Linked DNA regions of Homo sapiens: all the other regions are linked to region 2. Evidence: promoter capture Hi-C in 16 types of primary human blood cells and fetal thymus (Javierre and others, 2016). All regions are on one chromosome and are shown on one strand. Each heading gives the region's core, a stretch centred on a gene start or on the middle of the fragment in contact. The rest is flanking DNA. Distances are from core to core; before and after follow the strand shown.

The links. The method cuts DNA at HindIII sites, captures the fragments that hold promoters and counts their contacts. A CHiCAGO score of 5 or more calls a contact.
Region 1: a fragment that was not itself captured here is called in contact with the fragment with the promoter of CDKN2B-AS1 in region 2 in 7 of 17 cell types (total B cells, naive B cells, M0 macrophages and 4 more); the score reaches 14.7 in total B cells.
Region 3: a fragment that was not itself captured here is called in contact with the fragment with the promoter of CDKN2B-AS1 in region 2 in 1 of 17 cell types (naive B cells); the score reaches 5.7 in naive B cells.

Annotation. Positions count from the first base shown.
Region 1 is chr9:22,446,062-22,450,336 of GRCh38, forward strand. It overlaps DMRTA1 (DMRT like family A1), which reads left to right and starts at 763. Exons shown (of 2, transcript NM_022160.3): 1 at 763-1,671. The coding sequence starts at 1,005. RefSeq lists an enhancer at 939-1,438. The HindIII fragment of the contact is 247 bases long and covers 2,021-2,267 here.
Region 2 is chr9:21,991,695-21,996,040 of GRCh38, forward strand. CDKN2B-AS1 (CDKN2B and CDKN2A antisense cis and trans regulatory RNA 1) reads left to right here and starts at 3,097. Exons shown (of 19, transcript NR_003529.4): 1 at 3,097-3,467. It overlaps LOC124902130 (a long non-coding RNA gene), which reads right to left and starts at 2,334. Exons shown (of 2, transcript XR_007061436.1): 1 at 2,192-2,334; 2 at 1-786. It also overlaps a transcript of CDKN2A not described here. RefSeq lists silencers at 2,771-3,030, 3,351-3,550. The HindIII fragment of the contact is 17,311 bases long and covers 1-4,346 here.
Region 3 is chr9:22,254,310-22,258,729 of GRCh38, forward strand. No RefSeq gene overlaps it. Among named protein-coding and RNA genes, the nearest start is that of DMRTA1, 190 kb to the right of the region's middle. The HindIII fragment of the contact is 1,412 bases long and covers 1,112-2,523 here.

The DNA of each region.
Region 1 (4,275 bases), core at 894-3,393, 450 kb after region 2:
GGCATTAAATTCATATGTGAAGAATGCATTCATGACAGCATATTTAAATAATGATCTAAACGACTTTCCCCAATACTTTACAATAGACATAAGTATTTTTGAAACAGCTTTAACACAATCGCTGCCTATAAATAGGCGCAGAGAAGAGTTTGATAACTTTTTTAAAGTAGCAGTATTTTAAAATAGAGTACACACAACCCAAATTCGCATGTGTAAATAAATAGAATGCATGAAAAGAATCTGAATGTGAATCACTTCCCTTAGTTATTTATCCATTGTTTTGATGCTGTCCTAAGACCCATTTAAAATAAGGCATCTTTCTGGTGGGTAACAAATTCGTAGTCTATCAAGCTGGGATCCCACTAACATTGGCCAAACTGCTGCAGACATGAAGACTTCATCTGGGAACCCGAAAGGAGAACTCAAAATCCAAATCTTCAGACTTTCTTAGGAGAAGCGTGGAAGTGGGAAAAGGAGAAATTCAAACTCTGCTTAATTTCAAAAGGGCAGTAAAAGGGGAGGCTGCAAAGGCTAGTTTACAAAAATAGACGTCGAGAACTCCTAGGGAAGCAAGTAGAAACGGGCTTTTTTTGGGGGAGGAGACATTTGCAGCCCATTGGACGGATTCCCCGCCGCCCTCCTCCCAGAAGGTCCCCACTCCCCGCCCCGGGCCCTCCCCCGGCTTCCGCGCTGGGCCGGGAGCCTGGGTGGGCGGGGTAGCCTCTCTAGCCTTGCCTTCTTGGCTGGAGGCACAAAGGCATTAACTTAGCGCCCGGGGTCTCTGCCAGGCTCACGGGACAGCTGCACCTCTCAGCGTCTCCAGCTCCAGGACGCGGTCGTCCCAACTCCTTCCGAGTGGAAAGAGTGTAAAACTTTTGTCCGTGCGCGGGTGGAGCTCAGTAGGACCACGGCGCGTCCTGCCCCGGCTTCCCCAGCCTCCCAGCAGGGTTAGCTGCGGTCAGCGCACTTTCCACTTGGGACTCCCGGCCAGAAATTTCTCGGGAATGGAGCGGTCACAGTGTGGCAGCAGAGACCGAGGCGTTAGCGGCCGACCTCACTTGGCCCCTGGGCTAGTGGTGGCTGCCCCTCCGCCCCCGTCCCCGGCGTTGCCGGTACCATCGGGGATGCAGGTTCCCCCAGCGTTCCTGCGGCCGCCCAGCCTCTTTCTGCGAGCAGCGGCCGCGGCCGCCGCCGCCGCTGCCGCCACCTCGGGAAGCGGAGGCTGCCCGCCGGCTCCCGGGCTGGAGAGCGGGGTAGGCGCGGTGGGCTGCGGCTACCCGCGGACGCCCAAGTGCGCCCGCTGTCGTAACCATGGTGTGGTGTCAGCGCTCAAGGGCCACAAGCGCTTCTGCCGCTGGCGGGACTGCGCGTGTGCCAAGTGCACCCTGATCGCCGAGCGCCAGCGCGTCATGGCCGCCCAGGTGGCGCTGCGCAGGCAGCAGGCGCAGGAGGAGAGCGAAGCCCGGGGGCTACAGAGGCTCCTGTGCTCGGGGCTCTCCTGGCCCCCCGGTGGTCGGGCATCCGGGGGCGGCGGCAGAGCCGAGAATCCACAGTCCACGGGCGGCCCTGCGGCGGGGGCTGCGCTGGGACTGGGTGCCTTGAGACAGGCCAGTGGTTCCGCGACCCCCGCTTTCGAAGTTTTCCAGCAAGATTATCCTGAGGAAAAACAAGGTGAGTTGGTCTTTGATTTACTCTTTGCTCAAGGAATGGTTGTTCTGGAAAGAAACTCTGAAACAAGCCACCGTGTCCATAGGCGGGCAGGAATAGTTGTTTAAAAGAAACACTTTAAGTTTTGGGGAACTGCTCAGCAATATGGACATTAATGAGAGTGTGAGAGACCCCATCGCCTTCACTTTGGAGGAATTTACTGTTGTTCCCTCAGGTGATAGGATGAGATAATGAAAAAATGAAGCATGGGTGGTAACAAATGAGCAATTCACCCTAGGAGTAGAGTTATTTACTCGGAAGTTGATTTGACTTTCACTGTGTGAGTAGAACTTCAAGCAGGCATTGAGCGAAAAGCTTCGTAAGAGGTGCTGTGTTTGAGTCTGCTCTGTACTCTTTCCAGACAGGATCTCACTCTGTTGCCCAGGCTGGAGTGCAGTGGCGCCATTACAGCTCACTGCAGCCTCAACCTCCCCAGGCTCAGGTGATCCTCCCTGCTCTGGACTGTTTTCAGCTGTAAAACCAGAGCTGATTTTGCGTGGGAAACTCTGATAGTTGGGGATGCAGTTCTTTACTACATGTTGGGGCAAACATTTGTTGCAAGCTTGATGTGGGGAAGAGACTGAAATCTACCAAACCATCGTCTTTCTTTGTTTCTTCACTCTAAATTGTTTTCGCAAAATGTAATTTGTAAAACCATAGGTAAGAATTTCAAAGTTCAATATTAGAGGTTTTTTATCCAAGGAGTTTTCATTATTTTTCTCTTATTTTTTGACTGCGAGTCAGTTGCCTTCATTTCCTGCGTTAGGAGATATATTTTAGTGAACTTCATAGCCCTCCACAGGGCCTACTAAGCAGTGAAAATATCATTGTGATTTTTTTTTTGTATAAGTCAAAAACTTATACAAAACTTATAAAGCTGTATTATATGAAATTGTATGATAGCTATACAGTAAACTATTAATTAGAAACCTTCCTTGAATTATGAAAATTGCAGATCTCAACAGATTTTTTCGCTCAATGGCTGCTTGAAGTTCTACTCACACAGTACATTCGAAAAATTCTGTGAATTGAAATGAGGCATTCAGTTCAGAGTGAATTTTGTGTTTGCATGTGTCAACTTTTGCACATATTCTAATTTATTTGAGTAGGCAAAACAGACTTTCTACAATTCCCATGAAAGATGAAGGTGCTAAAGAGCACAGTTATTAAGTAAAAGTGCTATGAAAGAGAAGTAAAAGTGAGAATTCCTGAAACTACACCGATAGTGAAATGGCTGACATCTCCCTGTGAGACACTGATTTATGTGATTTCTAGTTGGTACCAAAGTGTTCTGTTTTATAGAGCTAATTATTTTACTTTGTTCTTTGCCTCAGATGATGCCCCCTCCCCCATAAGAAGCAAGCTAATGTTTGAAAGGTTACTTCAATAGCTTTCTAAATTGACTGGTTCTCTTACACAATAGCCATGAACTGTGGTAAAATAGTCTATTTAATTTACTCATTCATTAGACAAAGACTAACAGTGATTTAGAAGTGAACAAGTTTTTCCTACACAGAAGAACCTTATATTCAAAAGAAGGCAGACTATATGTATCCAAAAACTACAATGCAAGGCTTAATATACAATGATAAATGCAATAGAAGTAAAGCAAGCTGTAGGACTTGAGAAGACAGAGAGACGATATAAGTGGTATTATATTTTAAAGACACCATATTTTCTAAATAATCTTATGCAAATTGGTATTTCATTACATATATTGTACTGTGAGTAAAATATAACAAGACATTATTTTATGATTTCATGCATAAATTGCTATAGAGATGAAATGTTGATAATTGACATGTTCGGGGGCATGCTCATTCATATTTACAAGTAAAGTGGAATGGAGGACTAATGCTAATCTATTTCCACTTGGCAAATTTCATTAGAAAAGTATTATTGTGTTATTTAAAGTTGAAAATCCTATAGAGTGTTTGCAATTTTTGCAGTAGTGACATTCTTTTTTTCATATGCTTATGGGAACAGCATATAGGAACAGCATTTTGAACTTCAAAATGCTAAATTGTATACACTTTAATTTTAAAATAAACTATAGCTATTTCTTTAGAATTTAGAACTGAATTCTTCTTAAGAAAACTGGAGAAAACTGGAGTATTGCAAATCATATTTACAAATCACTGTCTTAGGCAATATTTGTTTTGTGACATTCATAAACTTGGTAGAAAAAGGAAGTTGGACAGAATTACTCTGCACACTCCACTTAACAGTTTACTCTTACCTATATATCTCTAGGGTAATAGAAAATGTAAACCAAAGTAAAAGTTACATAGTAAATATGGCTATTTTAATTTTTGTGGTGTTAACCTAGTAAAGGGTATTAACATATTCTTGTTTGATTAATATGCTCAACATGTTGAGATAGAAAAACCAGAACTTTGTGTAAAAGTACTTTTGGAAAATTGCCCCTAACATTGGAGGAGGGCTGTGATTTAAAGCAAATGCCTAATATGTTGTTTTTAAAAGACAATTTGAGGATTTGTGTAGATTGCAATAGGACAGTTTATAATTTTCTTTTACAAACAATTTGCTTTTAAAGTCTGTTATTGA
Region 2 (4,346 bases), core at 1,847-4,346:
TAGACGGTAATAGGCTATGTTGTTGCTACCTTAGGATCATAATGGACTTTCTAAAATTCAAGAGTACTCAAAGAAGTAAAATGAATATAAGTCTTGATTTCTGAAAGGGCTATGGTTCACTTGGAACACAATACAAACTGTGAATCATGTACACATGGGGAATAATGGTTTATACTAACTGCACAGTGCTTACCTTGAGAGGACTCTGTGCTATTAAAGAAAAAAATAACCTGAGCCTTCTGAAGTAGCTATAAACAAATGAATATTTAACTTCATAATAAAAATATGACTATTTTGTAAATGCACCAAGGTAGAAGTAACAAATCAACTATGGCAATTTTTCAGGTTTCTGTGGTTAAGAAACTGGTAACGTGGAATTTTAGTATATGTATTTCCAATCATATAAAAATAAAAAGTCATAATAAACATATTTGCAGAAACTTAAAAAAAGTTAAAATAACATCTTATTTGCAATGATATTAAATAATTCATACAAGTAATTTTTAGCACTTGTGCCTCTCAAGGAATTGTATGAATCCTAACATAATTAGTATCCATATATATTCCCAAATCAATATAGCCATGGGCATAAAATATATTAATGTGAAATATATAATTACATATCATTATAATTAACACCGCTAGATTTTATATTATGTATATCATTTTACATATGAAATTGGAAAATTGCATATATTTCAAGACATTCTATCCAAGCTGTGTTCTATCTTGAGAAACTTCCTGAAGATTGCGCTTTTCACATACGTCCTGAAAATTGATTTATACCTAAATAACAAAAAATGATCTATTTCAATGAACCTATCATTTAAATATTTTTGCATTTCATGCATATACATTAACATACTATAAAATATTTTCTCTAACTTAAAATCACCACAATGTTATGTTTTATAGGCCTAAACTAAAAAATACATAATTATGGCATTTATATACATTGACATGTTCTACTTTGTTACTACAGATTTTCAGAGGCAACTTAATAATTTAAACAAAATGATTTTATATAGAATAATATTAACTAGAGTAATAAATATTTTTATATAGACAATAATATTAAGAACTATATTCATACAGTTACCGGTCACAGTGGCTAAACTTTTGCTGATACGGATAAACCACTGTTAAAAAAAACAACAACCAGGGTCTTGTCAATGTTTCAAAATGAATTAAAATCAAATCCAGCAACAGGCCCTGAAATCCTTTATAAGCTCCTTTGACTAAATTAAAAAAATTAACTTGCATAATATGAAAAGTAAAAAATAAAATGTGCATTTATCCTATAGATTATAAATTTTTGCTAATAGAAATTGAGACACTAAATTAAACACTGATAGTTTTAACAGGTTTATATTTCCATGTCAAAGAGACAATTAACATTGCAGTAAAAAAATAATTACCCCTCCGCTGGCCTTTGCTTTTTGAAGCTATATATTCCTGGCGAAGCATACCACAAGGACGGTCATAAAAGTGAAGCCTCATTAAATTACTTTTAGACTTATTACACAAGTTTTAATTAGCATTGTACATATTTTAACTGTACATATATTCTTTCAGTTTTCCTGGTTATAGGAAATTACACTGGCTGTGTCAACATTTGTCAATGTGAGGACAAAACTACCTTGGATTCTGTTTTTCAAGAAGTAGGCCTCATTTTTAAACTGTGCTAACTGTCGTCTGAGATGACTAAAATACTATCAGTTGGGATTTCTCAGGAACAGTTCTACAGTTCTGTCGTTTGCTAAACATACGAGCATTGTCCCGAGCAGTTTCAATCACTCAGGCCGCCGGACCTCTACCTCTAACTCACAAAGAAAGCCCATTTCCCTGTTGGCTGCAAAACTCCCCCAAGAAGCAAGTGCTTGCTCCTCGCAGCAGTAACTGATCCTACGATCCTTGTTAGCATTTCAGGAAGTCGCTGCCTGCGTGCCCCGTATCTCACGGGTCCTCCACTCTCCTGGAAGGTGGGAGAGGGTGACCCCGCCGGGAGGCTGGGGAGAAAAAAGGCCGCCTCCAGAAAACTTAGATGGTTAGCAATAATTCTCCCCAAGGAGAAAGAAAGTGTGCTTGAAATACACCTTTCCTACTGTGTGTGTGTGTGTGTGTGTGTGTGTGTGTGTGTGTGTGTGTGTGTCTTAGTCATTCCCACCCAGGATATTCGGGACTCACTGACTTCTGAGGTGGGTTTAGAAGCTCTGTTCGCCTCAGTTTCCCACGATTGAGGGGCTGTGTGAAGGGAGGTCCAGGTTCAATGGTACTGCGAGAACCACATGTCTAAGTCGTTGTAACCCGAATGGGGAAGCCTCCACCGGCGGTTATCTCCTCCTCCTCCTAGCCTGGGCTAGAGACGAATTATCTGTTTACGAAATCACACCAAACAAAACAAGTGCCGAATGCGCCCCGGACTTTTCGAGGGCCTTTCCTACCTGGTCTTCTAGGAAGCGGCTGCTGCCCTAGACGCTGGCTCCTCAGTAGCATCAGCACGAGGGCCACAGCGGCGGGCGCCCCTGGCGCTGCCCACTCCCCCGTGAGCCGCGGGATGTGAACCACGAAAACCCTCACTCGCGGCGGGCCGCACGCGCGCCGAATCCGGAGGGTCACCAAGAACCTGCGCACCATGTTCTCGCCGCCTCCAGGGCCGAGCTCGGCAGCCGCTGCGCCGCCCTTTGGCACCAGAGGTGAGCAGCGCCACTCCTGCCCCCTTAACTGCAGACTGGGACCCACGCACCGCCCCCTGCCCATCTCCGCCCCGCAGGCGCGCACCCGCCTTCCCTGAGCGCGCCCGCCCCCCACCTTCACCCCCACCCCCACCCCACCCCCACTCCCACCCGGACCTCCAAGATCTCGGAACGGCTCTGAGCCCTGCGCACGCGGGAAGGGCTGCCGGAGGCGCCCGTAGGGAGGCGCGCGCGCGGGCGGCTCAGGGCCCGCGTTCCTCTCCCTCCCGCCTACCGCCACTTTCCCGCCCTGTGTGCGCCCCCACCCCCACCACCATCTTCCCACCCTCAGCGCGGGCGCCCCGCGGTGACGGCCCAGGGGCCGGACGCCTGGAACGCAACTCCAGGCAGCTCGCCCCCTAGCTACATCCGTCACCTGACACGGCCCTACCAGGAACAGCCGCGCTCCCGCGGATTCTGGTGCTGCTCGCGTCCCCGCTCCCCTATTCCCCTTATTTTATTCCTGGCTCCCCTCGTCGAAAGTCTTCCATTCTTCAAACTAGATTATTTAAAAATGAAAAAGGAAGAAAGGAAAGCGAGGTCATCTCATTGCTCTATCCGCCAATCAGGAGGCTGAATGTCAGTTTTGAACTAAAAGCCGCTCCGCTCCTCTTCTAGATTTGGAAAACAAGCGAAATTAAACTAAACCGCTGCACGCCTCTGACGCGACATCTGGACACGGCGCGGCGCTGGCGCTGCCGGAGCTGTCGACCCGGCCTGGCGCCGGACTAGGTAGGTGGAGTCGCACCCGGGGGTCCCAGCTGGGTCCGGGCGCCCATTCCCCTCCCAGCTGCCCGCGTCGCCGAGGGCGCCTGGCTGGGACAAGCACCGAGTCCTTTGTGTCTAGCCCATTTTTATTTTCGGTTTTAACCTTCACGACAGCCGCGGAGCATCTGAGCGCTTCTTCCTCTTTCCTCTTCCCCCGCGCTCCCCTCCCCTGCTGGCCGCTCCCCTCCTGTCGCCGCGTCCTCGCGTAGAATGGTTGTCTTGGCGACCGTTGGCCGCTGCCGCCTCCACGCTCTGCCCCGCGCCCAGACACCCCGACTCCCCTTGATCCCGCCGCCTGACTCCTCGGCGTACGTTCTCTCTCCGGTCTCCCCCTCCATGTCCCCTCCTCCCCTTTTCTTCCACATCACCGATCCTTTCTGGACTCTCTCCCTTCCTCCTTTCCAGCTGGGAGACAGGAAAAGCGGTCCTGTTTGGGAACAGTAAAAGCAGGGCAAGGAAAGGAAGGAGCGGCAGAAAGGAGGGGTGAGTCGAGGACACAGGGGCAGCCGGAGAATGCGGAGGAGCCGGGTCCTGAGCGCGGTCTAAGCGAGGCTCGGCTCTCGTCCAGGAACTCGGACGCGGGCTCGCCGGCTCTCCGCGCGCGGGAAGTCGAGCCCAGGACGCCGCCTTCAGGCCGGCGCGCTGACCCGGTGCCCCGACCCGGAGCCTGCGGTCTGCCTGGATCCGTCCTAAACCTCGCGGGCTGGACCCGCGGCCTGAGTGGGTGGGTGTGTGCCAGAGGATTCGGGACTAGGCCCAGCTCCGGGAACCTGGAAATGTGGCCCGCTTCTCAGTGGCTTCCTGTTCATGCGCTTGGGCCTAGTGGCCTAGTTGAAGAAGTGG
Region 3 (4,420 bases), core at 568-3,067, 260 kb after region 2:
TGGAGTTTTTGGGTCTCTCTTTTATTCAGTTCAGCTCTGATTTTAGTTATTTATTTTCTTCTGCTGTCTTTGGGGTTAGTTCTTGTTTTCCTCGTTACTCTGGGTGCAGTGTTACATCATTAATTTGTGATCTTTCTAACTTCTTGAGGTTGACATTTAGTGTTATGAACTTTCCTCTTAACACTGCTTTTGCTGTATCCCAGAAATTTTTGTATGTTGTGTCCCTGTTTTTCTCTATTACAAAGAATTTTTAAATTTCTTTCTTGATTTCATTGTCTACCCAAAAGTTATTCAGGAACAAGTTGTTTAATTTCCAAGAAATTATGTGGTTTTTGAGACATCCTAGTATTAATTTCTATTTTCATTCCACTGTGGTCTGATAGTATAATTTTAATTTTTTTGAATTTATTGAGATTTGCCTTATGGTAGAGCGTGTAGTCAGTCTTAGAGTATATTCTGTGTGCTAATGAATATATTCTGGGGTTGATAGGTGTAGTATACTGTAGATGTCTATTAAGTTTATAAATATGGATGCTCAAATATTGGATGCCTATATATTTAGTATAGTTATGTGTTCTCATTGAATTAAATCCTTTTATCTTTATGGAATGCCCTTCTTTGTTCTTCTTTACAGTTGTTGGTTGAAAGTCTGTTTTTTACTATAAGAATAGCAACCTCTGCTATTTTTTGTTTTCTATTTGTGCAGCCAATCTTTCTCCAACCGTTTACTTTGAGCGTAGGGTGTTATGTGTGAGATGGGTCTCTTGAATACAGCAGATTAATGGATTTTTTTTTTTAATTCAACTTGCTACTCTGTGTCTTTTAAGTCAGGTGTTTAGGCCATTTACATTCAAGGTTAATATTGGTATGTGAGGTTTTGATCTTATTATGAAGTTGTTACCTGGTTGCTTTATAGGGTCACATATTGTGTGATCATTTTATAGGGTTTGCAGAATATGTATTTATGTGTATTTTTGTGGTAGCAGATATTGTTATTTCATTTCCATATTTAGACTTCTCTTAAAAATCTCTTGTATTGCTGGTGTAGTGCTAATGAATTCCCTTAGTCCTTGCTTGTCTGGAAAATATCTTATTTCTCCTTCTCTTACGAAGCTTAGTTAGGCAGAATGTGAAATTCTTAGATGGAATTATTTTTTCTTTAAGAATGCTGAAAACAGGCCCCCAATGTTTCCTGGCTTGTAATGTTTCTGCTGAGAAGTCTGCTGTTAGCCCAACAGGGTTCCCTTTGTGCATGATCTTCCCTTTTTCTCTAGCTGCCTTTAAGATTTTTTCTTCAGTGTTGATCTTGGACAGACTGGTGGCTGTATGCCTTGGTGATGTTGATTTTGCATAGTATCTTACAGATGTTCTATCAGTTTCTTGTATCTGGATTTTTACCTGTCTAGCAAGGTTAAGAAAGTTTCTTGAATTATTCCCTCAAATATATTTCCTATTATTGAATGCCAAATAATTTGTATGTTTGTTTGCTTTGAATGATTACATATTTCTCAAGTACTTTGTTCATTTTTTAAAAATTCTTCTTTTTTTAATTCTTGTCTCACTGTGTCAGCTCAGAAAAACAGTCTTCAAGCTCTAAATTTTTTTTCTTCTGCTTGATACAGTCTGTTGATACCGCTTTCAGTTGTATTTTGAAGTTTCTTAGGTGAGTTTTTCAATTCCAGAATCTCTAATTGACTTCTTTATCTCTTCCTTCATTTTCTAGATTGCTTTATAAATTTCTTTGTGTTGATTTTCAACGTTGTCTTGGATCTCATTAACCTTCCTTGCAATCCATGCTTTGACTTCTTTATGTGTCATTTCTGAATTTCCATTTTGGTTAGGGACCATTGCTGGAGAGCTGATGTGGTCTTTTTGTGGTGTCACTCCTTTCATATTTTTCATGCTGGCAGAATTCTTATGCTGGTTCCTTCTCATATGGAGACACTAGCTCTTTAAATTTTTGTAATATTTTTGTGTGGGTAGAGTTTTTTCTTCTTCTTGCTTTCTCTATAATGTTAATATTATTATAATTTTTATTCTTTCCTTTTCCCTTTTCCCTCCATTTTGGGGGGATGTGACTGTAGAGAATGTTGGATAGGGTCTTCTGGCTTTGCTTTCATAGCCTTATTCATTTACTTTGGCTGATTTTATATTGGGCTGTGGAGTTCAACCTACAAGCTATTGATGGCATTTACAGGTAAGAGCTGGCTGTGGCCAACGTGTCTGGGTATATACTTGATTCTTATTTACTGGCAGAAACTCCCTATTGCCTAAGACAATAGGCTGATTCATGGCGTGTACAGTGGTCTGAGCTCCCTGACCAGCCCCAGAGCAGCAAAGACCATAAAGGGTCAGGGGATGACTGGGCAGGTCCACCTATTGGTCTCCTGATGGCAGGCGAAGGCACCAGCACCAAGGGAGAGTCCTGTGAGCAGCCACCAAATACTCACAGGTGTGCCTAGGGATGGAGCTGGAACAGTGCTTCAGCTCCAGGTTCTCTGCACAAAATTGGAGGATGGCCTAAGCTTCTAATCCAGAAGGGTAAGCACTCTAAGTGCCTGGAGCTCTGTATAGGCATGGAGCAGAGAGGATCCCCTGAACCAAGATCTCTGAACAGGAGGGTTGGGTGACAGACTGATTAACCAGGCATGCATGTGCTTTGAATTTCTGGAGATCTGTTTGGGCCTGAAGCAGAGAGGGACTTGCTGCACCATGATCTATGTCCAAGGAGGGTGGGGTGGCTCAGGCTGTTGAACCAGATGAGTGGTTGCTCCAAATGCCTGGCATTCTGCCTGGGTATGAAGCAGAGAGATTATCCCTGTACCAGGATCTCTGCACAGGAAGGGTGGGGCAGGTCAGGTTGCTGATCCAGATGAATGGTGCCCTGAATGCCTGGATATCTGCTTGTGCAGGTGCTCCTAATGCCTAGAGATCTGCCTGAGCATGTAGTAGAGAGGTGTGCCAGGATATCTGCACAGGAAAAGTGGGACAGCTTAGCCTGCTAATCCAGGTGAGCTGGTGCTCTGAACACCTGGAGATCTGTGAGGGTGGGGCACAGAGAAAGCCCTACTGTACCAAGATCTAGGTCCAGGAAGGGTGAGGCAGTTCAGGCTGCTGAACCAAGTAAATGAGTGCTTTAAATGCCTGGAGACAGATACCTGCCTGGGCATGGAGAAGAGAAAACTCCACTTCATTGCAGTCTATGTCCAGGAAGGGTAGGGTGGCTCAGTCTGCTGAACAAGTCAAACAGGTGCTCTGAATTCTTAAATATCTGCTTGGGTGTGGAGAAGACAGAGCCTCTCTGCAACATGATCTATTTCCAGGAAGGGTGGGGCAGCTCAAGCTGCTGGTCCAGGGAAGTGAATGCTCCAAATGCCTGGATTTCAGCCTAGGGGTGGAACAGAGAGGGCCCCCCAATGAGCTACAATCTCAGGAGAGCAGGGTAGGGAATCCAGCAATGGCACATATCAATCAGTTCCAGGTTGTCAAGCTGGCCCTGGCAGCAAATCTTGCCACTTAGGAGAAATTACAGCTGTAGCAGGTCTCCTCCTGCCCCAGGGTTGTGATAGGGGAAAAACACAATTTTTGCCTTACTGCTGAGGCATTTTCCAGAGTTCTGGCTGTGGAGGCCCTTACCACACTGAGAGCGGGTGCTCCCTGGCCTGAGACTAAAATGCCTGTGTAGCCACACTGCTGTGTCGACAAAGAATGGCTGACTTTGTACACATTCAGATTAAAAATGGCATCCTGCTCTCACTTCTGGGTCTGGACTGAGACCCTGGACTGAAAGTGTATGCAAGTTTTCATGGTATCTTTCTTTACAGCATCTCTAAGCCTCTCAGCCTCTTCCCAAGTTAGCTCCAGGGTGTGGGAGACACAAAGTGCTTTCCCTCAGCCTGGGTTGCTCAGATCCACAGTGGAAAGGTGAGTTCCAGAGGGAGGCTGTCTTCCTCTCTCACATGCTGGAGCTTAAGTCACTTTTATCAACTGAACACCACAGAGGCTGTTTGCTGGTGTTCTGCTCTCTGGGATCTGAATGAGAAGAAGTAAGTCATGTTCAAAGAATTGAGAGAAATTCTACATATCCTAAAGATAGAATGTAAGTTTGAAAGTAATGTGTGTGTGTGATAAGAATAAAGCTAGATATACAATTTTTCACATTAATTAGGCCTTTAGTGAACTATAGGTAAAGTGATCATCTGACAACTGTTATGTATTCATGGCCAGGCAGGAGATTCTCATCAGAATCCTTTTAAGGCAGAAGGATGCAACATTTTGAAGACAATTTTTTTCCAATTTTTTTTGTAGTAAAGTACACATAGCATAAAATTTACCATCTTAATCATTTTAAGTCTACAGTTTAGTGGTACTAAATACACCCACAGTGTTGTACAATAATTACTACCATCCATGTGATAAC